7 separate regions of the Homo sapiens genome follow, and all the other regions are linked to region 5. Evidence: promoter capture Hi-C in 16 types of primary human blood cells and fetal thymus (Javierre and others, 2016). All regions are on one chromosome and are shown on one strand. Each heading gives the region's core, a stretch centred on a gene start or on the middle of the fragment in contact. The rest is flanking DNA. Distances are from core to core; before and after follow the strand shown. Region 1 overlaps IKZF1 (IKAROS family zinc finger 1). Region 2 overlaps GRB10 (growth factor receptor bound protein 10). Region 3 overlaps IKZF1 (IKAROS family zinc finger 1). Region 4 has its middle 16 kb from the start of FIGNL1. Region 5 holds the start of UPP1 (uridine phosphorylase 1). Region 6 overlaps IKZF1 (IKAROS family zinc finger 1). Region 7 holds the start of FIGNL1 (fidgetin like 1).

The links. The method cuts DNA at HindIII sites, captures the fragments that hold promoters and counts their contacts. A CHiCAGO score of 5 or more calls a contact.
Region 1: a contact is called between a fragment that was not itself captured here and the fragment with the promoter of UPP1 in region 5, in 3 of 17 cell types (total CD8 T cells, naive CD8 T cells and activated CD4 T cells). The highest score is 8.3, in total CD8 T cells.
Region 2: a fragment that was not itself captured here is called in contact with the fragment with the promoter of UPP1 in region 5 in 1 of 17 cell types (naive CD4 T cells); the score reaches 9.6 in naive CD4 T cells.
Region 3: a fragment that was not itself captured here is called in contact with the fragment with the promoter of UPP1 in region 5 in 1 of 17 cell types (activated CD4 T cells); the score reaches 6.0 in activated CD4 T cells.
Region 4: a fragment that was not itself captured here is called in contact with the fragment with the promoter of UPP1 in region 5 in 1 of 17 cell types (total CD8 T cells); the score reaches 5.8 in total CD8 T cells.
Region 6: a fragment that was not itself captured here is called in contact with the fragment with the promoter of UPP1 in region 5 in 2 of 17 cell types (naive CD8 T cells and non-activated CD4 T cells); the score reaches 6.3 in naive CD8 T cells.
Region 7: the fragment with the promoter of FIGNL1 here is called in contact with the fragment with the promoter of UPP1 in region 5 in 5 of 17 cell types (naive CD8 T cells, non-activated CD4 T cells, activated CD4 T cells and 2 more); the score reaches 10.6 in naive CD8 T cells.

What each region holds. Positions count from the first base shown.
Region 1 is chr7:50,343,256-50,345,955 of GRCh38, forward strand. The region is part of intron 3 of IKZF1 (IKAROS family zinc finger 1); the gene reads left to right. Among named protein-coding and RNA genes, the nearest start is that of IKZF1, 40 kb to the left of the region's middle. The HindIII fragment of the contact is 950 bases long and covers 854-1,803 here.
Region 2 is chr7:50,738,640-50,741,339 of GRCh38, forward strand. All of the region lies in intron 3 of GRB10 (growth factor receptor bound protein 10), which reads right to left. Among named protein-coding and RNA genes, the nearest start is that of GRB10, 43 kb to the right of the region's middle. The HindIII fragment of the contact is 1,840 bases long and covers 380-2,219 here.
Region 3 is chr7:50,400,393-50,403,092 of GRCh38, forward strand. IKZF1 (IKAROS family zinc finger 1) reads left to right here. Exons shown (of 8, transcript NM_006060.6): 8 at 1-2,700. The coding sequence ends at 235. Among named protein-coding and RNA genes, the nearest start is that of FIGNL1, 49 kb to the right of the region's middle. The HindIII fragment of the contact is 292 bases long and covers 1,171-1,462 here.
Region 4 is chr7:50,432,617-50,435,316 of GRCh38, forward strand. No RefSeq gene overlaps it. Among named protein-coding and RNA genes, the nearest start is that of FIGNL1, 16 kb to the right of the region's middle. The HindIII fragment of the contact is 411 bases long and covers 1,130-1,540 here.
Region 5 is chr7:48,087,840-48,090,539 of GRCh38, forward strand. It overlaps UPP1 (uridine phosphorylase 1), which reads left to right and starts at 1,426. Exons shown (of 9, transcript NM_003364.4): 1 at 1,426-1,579; 2 at 2,349-2,525. RefSeq lists enhancers at 429-958, 771-980, 1,491-2,020 and silencers at 1,121-1,460, 1,801-1,990. The HindIII fragment of the contact is 3,480 bases long and covers 1-2,700 here.
Region 6 is chr7:50,360,573-50,363,272 of GRCh38, forward strand. All of the region lies in intron 3 of IKZF1 (IKAROS family zinc finger 1), which reads left to right. Among named protein-coding and RNA genes, the nearest start is that of IKZF1, 57 kb to the left of the region's middle. RefSeq lists enhancers at 1-198, 199-716. The HindIII fragment of the contact is 1,556 bases long and covers 632-2,187 here.
Region 7 is chr7:50,449,026-50,451,725 of GRCh38, forward strand. FIGNL1 (fidgetin like 1) reads right to left here and starts at 1,325. Exons shown (of 4, transcript NM_001287492.4): 1 at 1,276-1,325; 2 at 93-698. RefSeq lists silencers at 846-1,140, 1,282-1,471. The HindIII fragment of the contact is 8,767 bases long and covers 1-2,700 here.

The DNA of each region.
Region 1 (2,700 bases), core at 79-2,578, 2.3 Mb after region 5:
CTTTCCTCCTTCCTTCCTTCCTCTCTTCTTTTCTCCATCCCTTTCTTCCTTTTAACATTTGATCATGGGTACCATTTCATCAAGATTCTGTTACTTAGGTCCAAGGACTAGTGACCAAATTGTTTTTCCCAGGAGTAAACTTTTCTACAAGACATAGAGAAATGACTGCCAGTGCCATCAGGCACACCATCCTGTGTGATAGGTAACCTAAAATAATGGTACAGCGGGGAGTAACTGGAAGAGTCACAACTACACAAATCTCTTGCATTTTCCTGATCATTAAATGAATTAGGGATTTCCTGGTTTGAGATTTGTGGACAAGGAGAACTACTTCTTTGTACAAGAGGCTTGTGCCAGGAGAAGACACGCTGTGGTTACAATGTTACTGTCTCTAGCTATGGTCATTTCATGTCTTTAACTGAGTGTACCTAGAGTGTAATACAGTGCAGCAGTGATGGGCTGAAGGCCTAATGCACCAGCACACATGCCTGGAAGACCTAACGTTGAGAATCCGCATTTTTTTCATCACTCACATTTATTTTGCATCTCCCTGTTTTGATTACCTTCAGAGACCCAAGCACTTGCTTTTGTATATTTGAGTCTGGGTTTTATTTTCCTTTTAGAAATAGTCCAAAATCCTTTTAGAGCCTAGACCTTTGAATAAAGTGCTAACTTAACCTGAGGAATGCTGTTTTTTTGTTCACAAATAAGGCTTAATTGTGAAGTCGTGAGAATTGCTTTCTGAGCTGACTTATAAATTTACCCACCTCTTTTTCCCCAAACCCCCAAAAAATCCTCCAGAAGGTGAGCCCAGCTTGTTGTAAAAGATTTTGAAGCAGAAGTCCTGGGTTTAAGCTTCAGTTCTCTGCCTTACCAGAATCGGGATGTGTGGGGCAGGCCTACCTCCTCTTTCTTCATCTGCAAAATACATTGAATGAAATCATATTTTTTCCTAAGTATATGACATGTAAAGTGGTATTTCAAAAACTCATTAATCTGCATGACCAGGTCAGAAAAGACACACCTTTTGCCTTGTGTCTAGTGTGTGACTGTCCTCACATGTAGATGACCCAGGCCACATCCGCTGATGTTGTCTTCCTTTACTTCTTTGTCCCTTCCAATGACTCCTTTATGAAGTCAATCAGCAGTGTTTCTAAGCCAGGTTCCTTCTCTTCACACATCCCCAACCCACAGGGCAAGTCATCCACATTTTGCCTCTCTATTTTTTGTGCTTTGGGAAACACATTTTACAACTTCCAAACTATTTGCCTAAGTTCATCTGAGCACATCTAGAATTATTCCACTCCTCTGCATCAGTGCTAAAAGTACAATCATGTATAAGCTGTTATACTCCCGTTATTTTGTACCTCATGTGCAGGTAGATTGCAAGTTCCTTGCAGGCAGGTACTACATCTACTTGAATTGCTTCACGATCACATAACACAATGCAGTGTTAAAAGTAGAAAAGTAATTGACATCTTGACTAACAGAAACACTAAATTCAGTGTATTGTGATGATACCTTTTTAAGAGATAGGCTATAGAAATAGAAAATCATCTTAGTTGGAATTGAAAGTCAAGAAGCAACATTTTAAGTAAGAGATGAAAATACTTAAAAGGGAAAGGAGCAGTGCTTACACAGATGAGGGGAAAAAATAAAATGTATCATCTAAAAATTTAAATCAAATATATTAGGTTGGTGCAAAAGTAACTGCGATTTTTGCCATTAAAAGTAATAGCAAAAACCACGGTTACTTTTGCACCAACCTAATAGATGGGAAAAATAAGAGGAATGAATATTTTAAGCTTTGCTATATAATTAAAATATTCTTAGAAGTCTGGAGTCTGTGAAGGTCACACCCTCTGGTCTTCTCCCAGCCCATAGGGTATAAATAATCTGAATTGACGGCATCCAGGGATCTCAGAAATTATTAGTACATCCCACAGTGAATTACCACCTTACTAAAATATTCATGGGTATATACTATGGATTTGTTTTATCCTATTTAGTCTTAAAAACTATAAAGAAATCTGCAGGCTTATTAACATATTACTCAGAATCATATTGTCTCCAAAGCACAAACTGAATCAGTTACAAGATATTGGACTAGAGATCATGGCAAATCAGAGGTACATAAGACCTAGTTCCGTTGTGGAGCTAAACAAACTGCAGAGACCTAAAGGGAAGCCTTGCACCACACTCTAGGTTTGGAGCTCAGGTTTTGAGTGGTGTCAGCACTCCAGAACACATGGGATCCCCGGGAGGTGGAAATTGAGCCGTCTTTGGAGAATCAGCTAATGAGACAGATGCATGTTAAATGTCTGTTGTGGCCCAGGCACTCTGCTAGGCAGAGGGGTGAACCAGAAGAATGAGATTCATGGGGCCAAAGAATTTGCCTTCTGGTGTAAGAAAAGATGGAGGCAGCTTGGCAGAAAGAAAAAAAAGGTAAAAGATAGAAATGAAATACAGAATAATCTATCTCCTCATCCCACAAGCAATTCTGCCTGGTTTGTGGCTCACGCCTGTAATCCCAGCACTTTGGGAGGCCGAGGCAGGAGGATCACTTGAGGTCAGGAGTTCGAGACTAGCCTGGACCACAAGGTGAAACCTCATCTCTACTAAAAATGCAAAAAAATTTAGGGCCGGGTGCAGTGGCAGTTCTGCCTGGTTTGAACATCTGGTTCAGTTAAAATACTTCAT
Region 2 (2,700 bases), core at 50-2,549, 2.7 Mb after region 5:
AACTGGATCATCTACTGTGCTACTTTAAAGAGTTCAGATTCTAAATCATCAGCTGATTTATCAAAATATGTGATTCATATTCACAGATAATGAGGAATAGTTTTATAAGCCAGTAGATAGATAGCAGCTTTCTGTCTATAATAACTAAAGACTTTCTCATTAACCGTTGTCAGATGATTAAGAAATTGTATCAATATCTGTTGTCTTTTTGCTTCCCTTGATTAAAAGGGCCTACTAACAAGTTTGGCTTGCTGTGGTGGTTTCACATTGTTCTTTTAATGTCGAAGGTTAAACCCTCCTTTGCAAGATTATCATTATAAATAATATATTAAAATTTGTTTATTTTAATTAATGAAAATTTAAATAATCTTCATGATAAAGCTTAAACTTCTTTATTGGACTATAGTTCAGAAAAATCGTTCAAGCAGAGTCAAAAGTTTACTCATTCTAAAGTCAACATTTTTCTTAACAATGCCAATATTTACACTTCTGGATCCAGCAGCTGAAGTTGAACGTCTTTGTGTTTCCGATTATATGGGTTGTTTTTTGTTTTTCCATGTTAGGGCAACTTGTACTAGTTAAATTAAAATGATACAACTGTCATAAACTTCAAAAATGTTGCACCCAATAACACTTTTTCTGAAAAGTACATTGGGTGTTCCTAACTGAAACTCTAGAGTCTAGCAGACTGTAGATGATACTCTTAGGCCCTCACCTCGCAGCTAATTGCAAATTATGTTTATGGTGGATTTAAACTGTAGAGCGTTTACCCTCCCTTCTGAAAAGATAGTCAAATAGACATCTTCTAACCCAATGCCAGTAAGCAGATGACCAAATGACACATCCGTGACCAATCCATGCTCACCTTGTCTATCCCGCATGGCATGTGGCTCATCACACATGGCAACGTACTAAGTGCATGCTAAGAACCCATGCAATCCACTCTCATATTTCCTTTTCTGTTCTACTGTATTTATTAAAAACGCTTTTCATGACCTACTAACTTGATTTCAAGACCCGGTAACAGGTTGAAACCTACAGTTTGAAAATAGGGCAGGGCTGTGTTTGGGCTTGTGGTCAACATCGGGGTCACCAACTTCAGTTGGAGGGCCCGCTCCCTCACGTCCCCTCCCATGCCTGCCCCTTCACATCCAAGTGCTGTCCAGGGCACAGAGAGGCTGGCCCACTGGCCTTTCTCTTTCTATTCCCTCTTCACCCCTCAGTCCTCATTTCTCTCCTCCCTGACTCAGGAGAGCCAGAAACATTCCCAGCAAACACCACAGCTCTTATGCCACCTCTTCCTGTGACTCCCGCTCTTTGAAAACACAGCTCATCTGCTTAAAGGAACCTAGCCAGCCCGGAAACTGTGTGAGGCTGGAGGGAAAGTCATGTGACTGTGCCACATGAATCCTTTCTTTTGTTATTTAGCCACAAATCCAAAATGTGCATTTAACAGTACTAGAACATTTTACTGCATTCCTTAGGAAATCTACATTGAACGTGTGTTTCAGAATTTCTCCTCTCTCCCCCAGAACACTGGCCCCCACTTGCCAGTCACTCAGATGACAGTCGCATGTCTGCCACACCTGACCCATTCAAGTGGCACACCATTCTAGCTCATCGCCCTGGTGTATCTTCTCCATGGCAACAACCACTTCCTGACAGCTTCACTTTTGAGACAGTCACAAACCCCATCTTGTTCAAGAACTCAGTCTTGTTCCCTGCCATACCCAGAACAGCAGATAGTAACAGGGACCCAAGAAAGATCTGCTGACTAATAAGGGTAAGTTGTACAATTAATGATGATTGGGTTAAATAATAAAATTCAATTCAAAATTTAAAATTTTAGAAAGACGTTTTGAGTCTTAAATCATCATAGAATTGTTTTTTTAAAAGCTGTACCTTCCATAAAAGCCAGAAGATCCTACTCTTTATTAAGAAAAATATAATTGAGCAATGTTCACGGTATATTAAAATAATCACATGTAGAATGGAAAACAATATTTACATTCTAAGCCATAATAAAAACATTAAAAGAAACTCATAATTCTTTAAACATCAAAGGGAAAATAGATGAAGACACATTCATTCGAAACCCAAACAATTTGCAACAGAAGAGAGAAGACATAGCAGTAAATGTCAGTCATCCAATTCTCCTTTTCAAAATAATATTCAAAACCATTCTAATGAAAAAAAAAAATACCCAAGGCAAATAGAAAAGCTTTAAAAAGGGAGCTAGAAAAGAAAAAGACAGAATGGACAGATATAAAAACCAAACACAATGCAAACAAAATAAAAGCAATGGTAGCAATGATAGTCAAGTGTCACTTAAAGCAAAGAAACAATAATCCAAATACTAAAAAGCATTGATAAAAGCATAATTGATAATGAATAAAAACAGTATTATCCTCCAAACAGCAAAGTATCAAAATACAAAGAGCTAAAATTAGAAGCAAGTTTAATAAAAAGTTTACACTTCAATAAAAAGTTTACATTAAAAACAAACACTATGAGAGTCTCAAGGAGAAAACGAGGAAAACTAGTTGTTGCAGATGTTGGTCTATTATGTAGGACAAAGAAATAAAATTGGAATGAGTAATGAGAAGGCATTAATTGATATTTATGAAAAACAGGCATTTGCAAATATTTATAAACATTTGCAAAATTATTATTTTTTAAAAATACTAAACCACAAAGAAG
Region 3 (2,700 bases), core at 67-2,566, 2.3 Mb after region 5:
CGAGAACTCGCAGGACGCGCTCCGCGTGGTCAGCACCAGCGGGGAGCAGATGAAGGTGTACAAGTGCGAACACTGCCGGGTGCTCTTCCTGGATCACGTCATGTACACCATCCACATGGGCTGCCACGGCTTCCGTGATCCTTTTGAGTGCAACATGTGCGGCTACCACAGCCAGGACCGGTACGAGTTCTCGTCGCACATAACGCGAGGGGAGCACCGCTTCCACATGAGCTAAAGCCCTCCCGCGCCCCCACCCCAGACCCCGAGCCACCCCAGGAAAAGCACAAGGACTGCCGCCTTCTCGCTCCCGCCAGCAGCATAGACTGGACTGGACCAGACAATGTTGTGTTTGGATTTGTAACTGTTTTTTGTTTTTTGTTTGAGTTGGTTGATTGGGGTTTGATTTGCTTTTGAAAAGATTTTTATTTTTAGAGGCAGGGCTGCATTGGGAGCATCCAGAACTGCTACCTTCCTAGATGTTTCCCCAGACCGCTGGCTGAGATTCCCTCACCTGTCGCTTCCTAGAATCCCCTTCTCCAAACGATTAGTCTAAATTTTCAGAGAGAAATAGATAAAACACGCCACAGCCTGGGAAGGAGCGTGCTCTACCCTGTGCTAAGCACGGGGTTCGCGCACCAGGTGTCTTTTTCCAGTCCCCAGAAGCAGAGAGCACAGCCCCTGCTGTGTGGGTCTGCAGGTGAGCAGACAGGACAGGTGTGCCGCCACCCAAGTGCCAAGACACAGCAGGGCCAACAACCTGTGCCCAGGCCAGCTTCGAGCTACATGCATCTAGGGCGGAGAGGCTGCACTTGTGAGAGAAAATACTATTTCAAGTCATATTCTGCGTAGGAAAATGAATTGGTTGGGGAAAGTCGTGTCTGTCAGACTGCCCTGGGTGGAGGGAGACGCCGGGCTAGAGCCTTTGGGATCGTCCTGGATTCACTGGCTTTGCGGAGGCTGCTCAGATGGCCTGAGCCTCCCGAGGCTTGCTGCCCCGTAGGAGGAGACTGTCTTCCCGTGGGCATATCTGGGGAGCCCTGTTCCCCGCTTTTTCACTCCCATACCTTTAATGGCCCCCAAAATCTGTCACTACAATTTAAACACCAGTCCCGAAATTTGGATCTTCTTTCTTTTTGAATCTCTCAAACGGCAACATTCCTCAGAAACCAAAGCTTTATTTCAAATCTCTTCCTTCCCTGGCTGGTTCCATCTAGTACCAGAGGCCTCTTTTCCTGAAGAAATCCAATCCTAGCCCTCATTTTAATTATGTACATCTGTTTGTAGCCACAAGCCTGAATTTCTCAGTGTTGGTAAGTTTCTTTACCTACCCTCACTATATATTATTCTCGTTTTAAAACCCATAAAGGAGTGATTTAGAACAGTCATTAATTTTCAACTCAATGAAATATGTGAAGCCCAGCATCTCTGTTGCTAACACACAGAGCTCACCTGTTTGAAACCAAGCTTTCAAACATGTTGAAGCTCTTTACTGTAAAGGCAAGCCAGCATGTGTGTCCACACATACATAGGATGGCTGGCTCTGCACCTGTAGGATATTGGAATGCACAGGGCAATTGAGGGACTGAGCCAGACCTTCGGAGAGTAATGCCACCAGATCCCCTAGGAAAGAGGAGGCAAATGGCACTGCAGGTGAGAACCCCGCCCATCCGTGCTATGACATGGAGGCACTGAAGCCCGAGGAAGGTGTGTGGAGATTCTAATCCCAACAAGCAAGGGTCTCCTTCAAGATTAATGCTATCAATCATTAAGGTCATTACTCTCAACCACCTAGGCAATGAAGAATATACCATTTCAAATATTTACAGTACTTGTCTTCACCAACACTGTCCCAAGGTGAAATGAAGCAACAGAGAGGAAATTGTACATAAGTACCTCAGCATTTAATCCAAACAGGGGTTCTTAGTCTCAGCACTATGACATTTTGGGCTGACTACTTATTTGTTAGGCGGGAGCTCTCCTGTGCATTGTAGGATAATTAGCAGTATCCCTGGTGGCTACCCAATAGACGCCAGTAGCACCCCGAATTGACAACCCAAACTCTCCAGACATCACCAACTGTCCCCTGCGAGGAGAAATCACTCCTGGGGGAGAACCACTGACCCAAATGAATTCTAAACCAATCAAATGTCTGGGAAGCCCTCCAAGAAAAAAAATAGAAAAGCACTTGAAGAATATTCCCAATATTCCCGGTCAGCAGTATCAAGGCTGACTTGTGTTCATGTGGAGTCATTATAAATTCTATAAATCAATTATTCCCCTTCGGTCTTAAAAATATATTTCCTCATAAACATTTGAGTTTTGTTGAAAAGATGGAGTTTACAAAGATACCATTCTTGAGTCATGGATTTCTCTGCTCACAGAAGGGTGTGGCATTTGGAAACGGGAATAAACAAAATTGCTGCACCAATGCACTGAGTGAAGGAAGAGAGACAGAGGATCAAGGGCTTTAGACAGCACTCCTTCAATATGCAATCACAGAGAAAGATGCGCCTTATCCAAGTTAATATCTCTAAGGTGAGAGCCTTCTTAGAGTCAGTTTGTTGCAAATTTCACCTACTCTGTTCTTTTCCATCCATCCCCCTGAGTCAGTTGGTTGAAGGGAGTTATTTTTTCAAGTGGAATTCAAACAAAGCTCAAACCAGAACTGTAAATAGTGATTGCAGGAATTCTTTTCTAAAC
Region 4 (2,700 bases), core at 85-2,584, 2.3 Mb after region 5:
AAAAGTTTAATTATTTAAGAAAGCTATGTTCAGTACTTTAAAAATAGTATTTGAGTTTTTTAAATTATAAAAGAGTAGATAGTCATTGTACGCAAAACAACCATATTGTGTGTGAGTGAAGTCAAATATGGAAATCTTCCTCCCTCACACAACACATATACCTCCAGAGAGGTAAACACTCTTAACTGTCATTGTATGCCCTTCTGGAGCTTTTTCACATTCCTTTACTTACATATATAAGCACATGGACTATGCGCACCTTGCTTTTTTCATTGAATTATAGAACTTGGAGCTCTTGCCCTATCAGTGCACATACATTGACTTGATTTTTAAAACCCACTGCACAGATCATAGAACAGATTCAGCTATCTTCCACTGATGGATATTTAAGCCATCTATTTTTTACATATTAAAATGTCTCAGTGAACTTATTTATGTAGTATAGATTCCTAGAAGTGGAATCACTTTTGGCGGATATTACCAGATTCCTTTCCAAAAAGGCTAAGTTTATCCACATTCCACAACAGTGGATGCCAGGATCCTACTCTCCAAATATTTGCCAACACTGGGTAATGTCACTATTTCCAAATGCTATGCTAGTATTTTAATAATTTTTAAATTTTAAATTTACATTTTTATGCTTTTAGCTCAATGTGTAAACATCTGTGACTGGTATTTTCTTTCTGTTTGGATGCTTTTAGCTCAATGTGTAAAGGTTTATGATGGATATAAAGGCAAAAACTTCTTAACAGTATAAAATATTTTTCTTTATCGAGTTTATTGCTTTTTACCTTGATTCCTCTTTTTTCTGGTATTAATAATCCTGTTCCTGATCTTTGTTGGCACTTTCCTGTTTATATTTCTATTCCCTTATTTTCAATATTTCTATTTCATTTTATAAAGATAATGTAATTAAACTTTGCCTTTTTACCTAATTTAGGAGGCTATGCTTATTAATCAAGGAAGTTTTTGCATTTGTTATGAATCCTGAAATGTTTCCTCTTTTTCCTGACATCTTATTTAAAATTTTCTCTTTATTAAGCTTTTATTAGTTTCTCTTCACCTTTAAACATTTTTTTCTCAATTTCACGAATTGGGTTTCCTTTGTTTTTTTCTCTTATGATTTGGAAGCTTCATATCCTATTTCTGATCTATGTCCTATTTCTATTTTACTAACAGTTACACTTACATTTTAGACATAAACAAATACATATATATATGTTTTGTTTTGATCTTAATTTATATGATATACACAAATTTAAATATATGTATATTCACATGTTACATATGTTTAGTTAGATGTTTTAGCAATACTGAATACTAATTTTTTATTTAAATGAAAGTGAGCATGTAAAACACCTGATGATCATTTATTAATACAAAGTCATCTATCTACCTCAAGTATTAAACAGGCATAACACAAACAGTAAATTAAAAGGCAATGTTAGAAACACATTATTTTGTGAGTTTCAAACTTCAGTATCAACAACTTCAGGGACATTTTTCAATAAAAACATCTATCAATAATAGCACTATTCCAAGCTTTCTATTTTTTTATAGCCTTATGTTCTTTTGCTCTTCAATATGTAGTACTTCTAAATTATTTGTAACTATTAATAAAATATTACTTTTTAAACTTTTCCTCTGAAAATAATTTTATGGTATGATTTGCACCACATGAGTTTAGATAATGGAATGAGCCTGAACTGCAGCAAAATGCCTAACAATGAAGGCTAAGAGTTTTTAAAGATCAGTGTCCAAATCTGTGGCAATGTTGGGGTAACAGGATGTGAGGCTCTTAAGGAGCAGAAGCCAGTCTGTTTCTGTGAAGCACCAGATTCTCAACTTTTACCTTAAAGGTATAAAAATTAAATTATTTTGCAGTTCAAAAGGCTGCCTGCAGATATACCGCACAGAGTTGTAAGGGAAACAGCCTTAATTACAGACATGGTCACGGATGCTATACTGGTCTAGATCTGCCCTGTCCAACGTGGCGGCCTCTGGTCTCATGTGACTGAGCGCTTGAACTATGGTGAGGTGGAACTGAGATGTGCTTTAAATGCAAAATATACACCAGATTTCAAAGACTCAATACGAAGAAGAAAAATTTATATAAAGTATCTCATAAACAATTCTTATATTGATTACATGTTGAAATAGGATATTAATTTCACCTGGTTCCTTTTACTATTTTAATATGGCTACCAGGTTTAAAATTTCATATGTGGTTCTCATTATTCAGAGGTAATATGTTAATTATCATTTTCTTGGAGTTCCAATAATTGTCTTGGCAACATCTGTGACAGTTCCAGGTCTGCCTAGTTTAATTCAGTCCAAAGGATTTCAGCAGTAATTTGCTGAAAACAGGAGGGAGTATCCTCTCTTTAATGAGACAAATGTCTACTGAAGTCATTTTCATGGCAAAATGGTAGCTGCCTTTTTTTGATTTAGTTATTATCATATGTTCCAACTTCATGATAGGGCTCAGTAATGGGAGCAGTGGCTGAATTTCTGAGTCTGGATTTACTTTGTTTTTGTACCATATTATTCCTGTTTTTCTAACTACTCAGAGCCCTTGCAGTTGATAAATTACACTAAACTACTCCTGTGCTCCATAGATATATTACTCTAAAATCCTGACTTCTTATTGTTATTGTTGTCCTCTATGAAGAGTAACATCCAAGCCTCCTGACAATATCA
Region 5 (2,700 bases), core at 176-2,675:
CCACTGTGACCGGCTAGGTTTTTTTTTTTGTTTTTTTTTTTTTTTTACTTTTAGTAGAGACGGGGTTTCACCATCTTGGTTAGGCTGGTCTTGAACTCCTGACTTTGTAATCCACCCGCCTCGGCCTCCCAAAGTGCTGGGATTACAGGTGTGAGCCACTGCGCCTGGCCGTACTTTCATTTTCAATAAAACCCTTAATTCCTTCCTTGATTTGTTTGTGTGTTTCACTCTTGTCACCCAGTATGGAGTGCAATGGCGCGATCTCGGCTCACTGCATCCTTCGCTGGGTTCAAGCAATTCTCCTGCCTCGGCCTGCCTAGTACCTGGGATTACAGGCACGCGACACCACGTCCAGCTAATTTTTTGTATTTTTAGTAGTGACGGGGTTTCACCATGTTGGGCAGGCTGGTCTCGAACTCCTGACCTCAGGTGATCCATCCGCCTCGGCCTTCCAAAGTGCTGGGATTACAGGCGTGAGCCACCACTCCCGGCCCAACCCCATGTTTTCTCAGGAACTGGAGTTCCCTTTAGGAAGCAAGTAACAGAGGTGCTGGGCTGCCCGGGCCTCTAGGTCGTCTTCTTTCCCAGGCTCTGTGCTCTCACCAGAGTGCGCGTTCGGGAAGCAGGGAGAGGACCAGGAAAGACGCCTGAGACGGAGAGTGGGCACCGGCCGGGGGCAGGCAGGTCCGGCCCCTGGGGGTCAGAGTGCAGCGCCGGTTTGAGGCAGTTCGGCCACTTAGCTGCGACTCGAAGTGAATGAGTCACTTCCCCTCCTCGGGCGAGCTCCTGGCTTTGCCCCAGCAAGCGGGAACTCCCAGGATCAGGAAGGTCCCAGAGAAACTCCCCAGGGGGGAAGCCGAGGCCGTCCAGAGAGATCCAGGGTACACACAGTGACAGTGCCAGCTCCACATTCCCGACCACCGGGCCAGGGCTGGTTCCACGCTGTCATTTCTCTCCGCTGGCCCCAGCCGCGGGGCCACCGCCAGACAGACAGACCGGGGATCCTGCCTGGCGGCGTGACCTTGGGTTAGTCCTAGAGCCGCTTCTAGCCCGGTTTCCTCCGCCCCAGGTTAGGACCACGTGGGTAAGAAGATTTCCTCTGTAGTAGGGGCTGTTTAATGAGTAACAGAACTGGCTGCTGGTTCTTTACAATTGCCCAGCTGCTCTGCAGAGGCGAGAAGCAATTGCGGGCTGAGCCTCCCGGGACCTTCGCGGGAGGGTGGAGAGGAGGAAGGCGGGGGAGGCGGGGCCAGAGGGGCAGAGGAAGGTGGGGGCGGGCGGGGCTTGTCTGCGGGATGGCCCAGGATGCGGTCAGCTGAGTTCGCCGGCCCAGGGCAGGCGGGGCCCGAGCCTAGCGGTAACCCCCGGGCAGGGCGGGGCCGCTCGCAGACTCCATATGAGATTCACCTCGCAGGTGGTTCCCTCATTCGAGTGCTCCGGCGCACAGACCCGCGCCCCGCCGTCTGCGAGCCTCCCGAGAGCCGTCCCTTCGTCCGGCCCTGGAGCATTGCGTTTGTCGCCGGTGTCGCAGTGCGAGGATGGCGCCGCGGGTGTAGCGGCTCTCTGCGCAGGCCGAGTGGTGAGTCGCCCGCGGCCCGGCTCCCGCCGTTCTCTCTTCCCAGGGGTCTAGCCCGTCCCCTGCCTTGGCCACGTGCCCATTTACCTGTAGGGGCGGTGACGGAGGCTCTGGTGCACCTTGGCTGTGAGCTGCAGAGGAGCAGAGAGCGGCCCGGCGCGGCTGCGCGGGGAGGCGGGCGCGCGGCCGGGAGGTTCTGGGGCTGGTGTGTGCGGAGCGAGGTGGGCGTGGGGGAAGCGCGCGGGCGGGATGTGCTTCCTCGGGTCCACCCCGTGCCTACCTCTCCCACGTCCCGGCGACGGAGCGCGCGGGGCTCTGGGCGGGGAGCCCACCGGGCCGAGGCGCAGCGAGGGTGAAGCCAGAGCCGGCAGGGTCAGGTCCCGCAGGGCGCAGGCGGGCGCTTCTCGCAGCCCAAACCCGGGCGGGGAGTGCGGGAACCCCTAGAACTATGCTGGGAGCCCCAGATAAGAGGAAGGAGATGGTGACTTAAGTGACGAAGTGATGTTTTGTCCCCACCGCCTTTTAAAGGGAGAAGGGGGTAAAATTTCATTTGGAGGATGATTGTTACGCGAGCTTTCAGAGTTCAGATGGCGTCAAGTGGCCATCGAGTCAACATTTAACAAAATGTTACCGCATAAAATATTGTCATCGAGTTATCTGGCAGCTCCGCAGAGAAACTTCACAGGCATATGCGTTATATGACATAATTTGCATGGGGAAGGGGGTCCCTTCACGATTCTTTTATATGGCAACCTGTTCTTGGACCTGGCAGGGCCCAGAGAAGCGAGGAACTCCGCAGCTCGTCGACACGTCTCGTCTCCTGTCCCAATTCAGGGCTTGGTGAGGTGACTCGCGGTCGCGGGTGACTCGCCGGCAGGACACTGCCTGGAACGCCTGGAGCGCCTCCCACTGCAGACGTCTGTCCGCCTCCAGCCGCTCTCCTCTGACGGTCAGTTTCAAAGAAACACAGTCTGGGATCCGGAGTAGAAAGAGGCCGTTTCCCGTGAAGGCCATAGAGGCAGTTTCCAGGCGCCTGGGTGACCTGTCTCTGCACTTCCCTCTCTGCTTCTCCATCCCTGTTTCCTTTCCCCACTGTCCCCTGCCTGGCCTTTCTTTGGCTCATT
Region 6 (2,700 bases), core at 160-2,659, 2.3 Mb after region 5:
CGGCAGCAACAGTTTAACCTGTTGCTTCTGTAAGAGTGTGCTACTGGGAAAACCACATCTAAAACACGTGTGCAGTTACATCAGCTAGAGCACATGCTAAACAGTTGATCAAAGGCTCTTGCCTTGTGGCCCACGCTGCAGACACTCTGACGACTGCCGAGCTCCGCAGCCCCATGTCGTCCCTTCCGCACTGCCTGCTGTGCCTCTCCTCTCCATGTGGCAGGGAACACAGCCAGTCATCACCATGTGGCTCTGCCCGGCGCTGCCCCAGCATGTCCTGACAGGGCCTAGATATGGAAAGGTGGCTCTCCATGCACACACCCCAAGCCCCTCCTGCCCGCCGTGTGACCCACACTCTTATGGGCAGCCCAGTTATTTTGTAGCATTTCCCTTCCTTATCATTTTGGCCCAGTGATCCAGCACAAATCTCCCTTATTAGAATAAAATTTGGAATGACAAAATTAAATTTCATTTTTCACTTATATTGAGGACCTCACACTCTTCACCCCTGCCACGATCCCTGACAAGAGCCTTCCTATCTAATCATTGTTCCTCCAGCCCTCTTAGTTTTCTTCAGCCTTTCTTGATTGCCTGAATGTCCCTTTCCCTTCTCCTTTTAAAGCATGAACCAAGCTTTCTTACCCCGTTCTCATTATCATTTTTGCATTTTCTTCTTTGCATATGATTCTCCTTAAATTATAAAACTTGGGGGTAATTTCTAGAGGTGCCATCATAGTGCTTCTGTCTACTCAGTGTCTTTAGAATCAGCAAATATCATTTTTACAAAAAAGTAGTATTTCTTCCAAAAAAGAGTAAGCAAGAAGGTTACAACACTGGGAAAATATCCCTAAGCCTGTTCTTCAACCTGTTGAATGTTTTCCCCTAAATTGTTATATGGAGATCCTGGACCCGGAAGTTGGCTGACATGAAACAGGCCTAGCAGGGCAGCTGAGGAAATGCTCCAACCTCAGGATCCAGGAAGATTGCACATGGCACCAAAACAATCATTTAAAAGCTAATCCTGGCCAGGCACAGTGGCTCACGCCTGTAATCCCAGCACTTTGGGAGGCCGAGGTGGGCTGATCACAAGGTCAAGAGATCGAGACCATCCTGACCAACATGGTGAAACCCCATCTCTACCAAAAGTACAAATATTAGCTGGGCATGGTGGTGCGCGCCTGTAGTCCCAGCTACCCGGGAGGCTGAGGCAGGAGAATCACTTGAACCCGGGAGGAGGAGGTTGCAGTGAGCCAAGATCATGCCACTGCACTCCAGCCTGGTGACAGAGCAAGACTCCATCTCAAAAAAGAAAAAAAAAGCTAATCCCATAAAAGAACCATCATTTTGAACCTGCTGTTTCCTTTCTTGTACTCTTTAGAAGTACCCATTTCTCCCTTTCTAAGCCATAGGTGTATTAATTGGAGCTTTTTCTATCTTAATTAGTTCACTGTGAACAATTAAAATTGTGTTAATAAAACAAAAACAAAAATAGGACTGGTGCCTAGTTGTACTACATGAAGAGAGAAAGGGCCAGACATTGGTTTTTCCTAATCTTCTGTCAAGTTCTCCAAATCATCTGCTCTGGAAGGTAGCTCCAACAGCTGGGATTTGAAGTAAAGCATAGTGACTTTGGCCATCACTGACATGTCCCATTTGAAGCAACCAAAACTGTCCCTCGACCTGACACTCATCCCTGAAACACCATGAGGGTAAGTGAGGCGCTTCGGAAGGTCCACTCAACCCCATTGCCAGATAGAGTAAGTGTCTGCCAGGGGCATTTGGAGCTGAAGGGAAGACTGTACAGACTCACGGTTTGCAGGCACTGAAGGCGTTTTCCTGCCTTCTTTTTCACCTTCAGTGGACTTGCAAAGCACTAGCCCTATTGTTTTTCCCATCTGGGAAACATGGTGAATGTTGGTTGGTTGTAGCTAATCCTATGGGTCTTGAGGTCTTTGTTGACAAGAAGGTAGATGTTATCTTTATCTGCGTGTGGCTTTCTACTAAAACATGAGCTACAGGGCTCTCTTTTTTGTTTTAAAGCATTTTTCCATAAGGTTCACCCTTACTATTGCTTATCTGAATAATATTACCTGCTGAGAAGTTTATTCATTGCTCACCAGTTGTAGGGAGATTTTGACACAGGACTGGAGGATTTTTTTCTCATCGTAACAGTGCAGACCCATGGAAAGCTTGGAAGCAGTTGTGACCGGATAAGAGCAGGTTGAGGATGATAATCTTAGGGCAATGAGCAGGTTGATTGAGAGGGGTGCCTGAAAGCAAGGTCCCCATGATGCAAGCAAACAAACTCACATGCCAGACGGTGGACAGGAAACACAGGCAGGATGTGGTGCAGGCTGGGCTGCCTTGGCTGGGCAAAGGCAGGGGCTTCATGGCCATGCTGGGATGTGACGTGGTTGGAAAACAATAAGAATGGAGACCTCTCCAAAGACCTCAGACATAATTTGGCCATGAGAGGCAAGGGTAGAGGCGAGCCCCCTGTGGGTTGGAATGTATGGAATCCAGATGAAGCACCATCAACATGCATGGGCTACATAGGAGAGCTGGGTCTGGGGGAAAAGATGGGATTTGGGTTTGGGTGTGCATGTTCCAGGCATGGAGGGAAGAATGGGCAGAATGACGAGGATCAAGCCCTGGTGGAGCCCCCAGACCAGGGCCCTGGGCATATTTCCACTTGCCTTC
Region 7 (2,700 bases), core at 75-2,574, 2.4 Mb after region 5:
GACACAAACTTTCACAATTAATATTATCATTCTCTTCCTCTCCATGGCTTCATTCCCCTTTATCATCTGTTATCCTGAAATTTCTACCATACCTCAGAGTTCTAGTCACTGTTCTCAGAATAAACCCCCTTCTCTTTTCCATCTTCACCTTTCCTTCAATATTCATCTTCCAAGTCTTACTTCTTCCTTTCAATTCAATCATTTAAATGGCAAATAAGGATAACCAAAAACTGGCCATCACCGATCAGTGACACAACCATTGTCTTGTTTACCATTTCCAAGTCAATTTAACCTTTATGGCCTTTCCTAGATCTAAAAAGTATGATTAATTAGCACTGTCATATGAACTGCATTTCAATCTTCTTTATTTTGCCAATGTTCTGATTATTTTAATAATGTCATTATCTGTCTTCCTAGACAGTTGGCTTCTGCAGGGAGGAATTGTTTTCCATTCCATTCACATTGTCTTAGTACCTAGAATACAGTGTCCTTTGGAATAATAGCTACTAAAATACTGACGGAGTGCCTACTCAGTACCAAGCACTGTGCAAGCCTTTCATAGGATTCTGTTCTTGATGCAAAACGGGAGTTAAGAGCACAGGGTCTGGAGCCAGGCTGCCTGCTTTCAAATCCTGGCTCTATCATCTGCCAGCAGTGACTGCAGGAAAATCTCTTAATGTCTTTCTGCCGGTTTTCACCTATAAAAGAAGCGCAGCAACATCACTGAGCTGACAAGGTATTTTAATTCTGCAAAGCACTAGACAGAGGACTCAGCACTTAGAAAATACTCTATAAAATACTGCTTCTTCTGATTCCTCACGATGACCCCTGAAAGGTATGAGCCCTTCTTTCTCATCACAGAGATTAAGAGCTTGCCTGGGTCACAGGGGAACTGACTGACCCCCGCTGTGGGCGCCCAGAGCCCCGCTGGGCCCAGTAAATGCCTGCGGTAAGCGGCCCCGCCCCCGGACAGGCTCTGCCAAAGGAAGCCGCCCGCAGACCTGGCCCCGAGCCTGCCGTCCACGCCGGGCCCCAGCTTCCTAATCCTGGATGAGTCTGGTTCTGGGCTAGCGGGTCAGCCACCCTCCCGCTAAGACAGAAGCAAAAGGGCACAGCCACTGCCTGGCTCCCGCCTCCCACGGCCTCCCGCGAAGTCACCGCCCCGCGACCCCCAGCATTCCAGAGGCACACGCCCGCCTCTCCCCTACGCCCCAACCCTGATGCTCCACAGGGGTCAGCAGCGCCCCTGCCCCGCCTCCCGTCACCGCATCCTACCTGCGGCTGGTGTGGGACGCTGGCAGCCTCCGAAAAGCGCGGGGACTGACGTGCGCCTGCGCGCTGCTGTCGCCCTCGGACTCGCGCCGTACGTGCGTGCGTGAGTGCGTGAGTGCGTGCGTGCGTGCGTTCGGCGCGCGGGGCGTGGGCGCGGCACCTGGGCCCGGGCACCGCCACCTAGGCCCTAGCTCCGACCAGTGGTGTTCTATAAACGCTTATTACATCATTGTGCATAGGCTTCATTTTTAAAAGTACTCCCAAATAAATACAAGGAGGCGATGGAAATTGAATGAAGATTCGAAGGATTCCCATAGAGCGTGGCTCACTTCCCCTCACCGGGACAGCGAGCGGCGGCTCACCTGGGAGAGCAAAGCGTGGCTCTCCTGCGCCCACCCGGGAGAGCAAACAATGGCTCACCTGCGCCCACCCGGGAGAGCAAGCGTGGCTCACCTGCGCCCACTCGGGAAAGCCAGCCGCCATCCTGTGCTGCAGGCAGGGAGCGGGCGGCGGGAGAGGAGCGGATCCACTTAGGTCAGCGGTTAAAACGTCGTTACAAGAGGCCACCCCGGCATCGCGGGGCCTGTGGCTGCGCCCCCTCTTGAATTCAGGCCTAGCACATCACCTCCGCCCCTCGCACCCTGCAGTCTGCGCTCCATACAGCACGTGAGCGGGTGCTCAGCAATGTTCCCTGGCTGAAAGAACCGCATAGAGTAGCATGCAAAAATGACATGCATGTTTAAGATAAAATAAGGGAGAGGACACCTGTTCTGACTGAGTCTGGCAACTCAGATCTCCCCGCAGCCAACATCTACATTCCTTTGGACAGCTGTCTGCTGTGTAGGGACACCTCCCTGGAACTTTGAAAAGCACCCCATCATTACCTTCCACTTTGTTCTGGAGCAAGGTTTCAAAAGAAGAGTGCCGTATTTTGATTAATTTAGTGAATTGGATTTTCAGACACAAGTAAGAGCATCCACTCAGTGGCCTCTGCAGTAAATAATGATATCAGATCACATAACAAGAAGACTGGAGGTTGGCGGGAAATCTGGACCTGGTGACTCAAAGAAGTCATGAAGGACCATCTCTCCATTCTGCCACCTTCTCGCCTGTGGATTTTCCTCCCCAGGCTTGTCACTTCATTGTCGAGAGATGCCCTCACAATCCAAGCCAGGCAGCCTCACATGACCAGATCTAAAACACAAAGAGGGAGCCAAACTGAGAAAGGACCTTTTCCCTCTGAACACTTCTCTCTTGGAAAAAGAAAATGTTTCCCAGAAAGCCTCATAGCCTTCCTCTTATATCTCCTTGACTAACTGGGACCCGGATCCCTGGATATCCTTTCCTGAGAAAGAGAGGGTCTGGGGCAGGGGATAGAGAAAATGACTAGCAACTAGCAGCACATGATGTTTAAACATAAGATTTAAA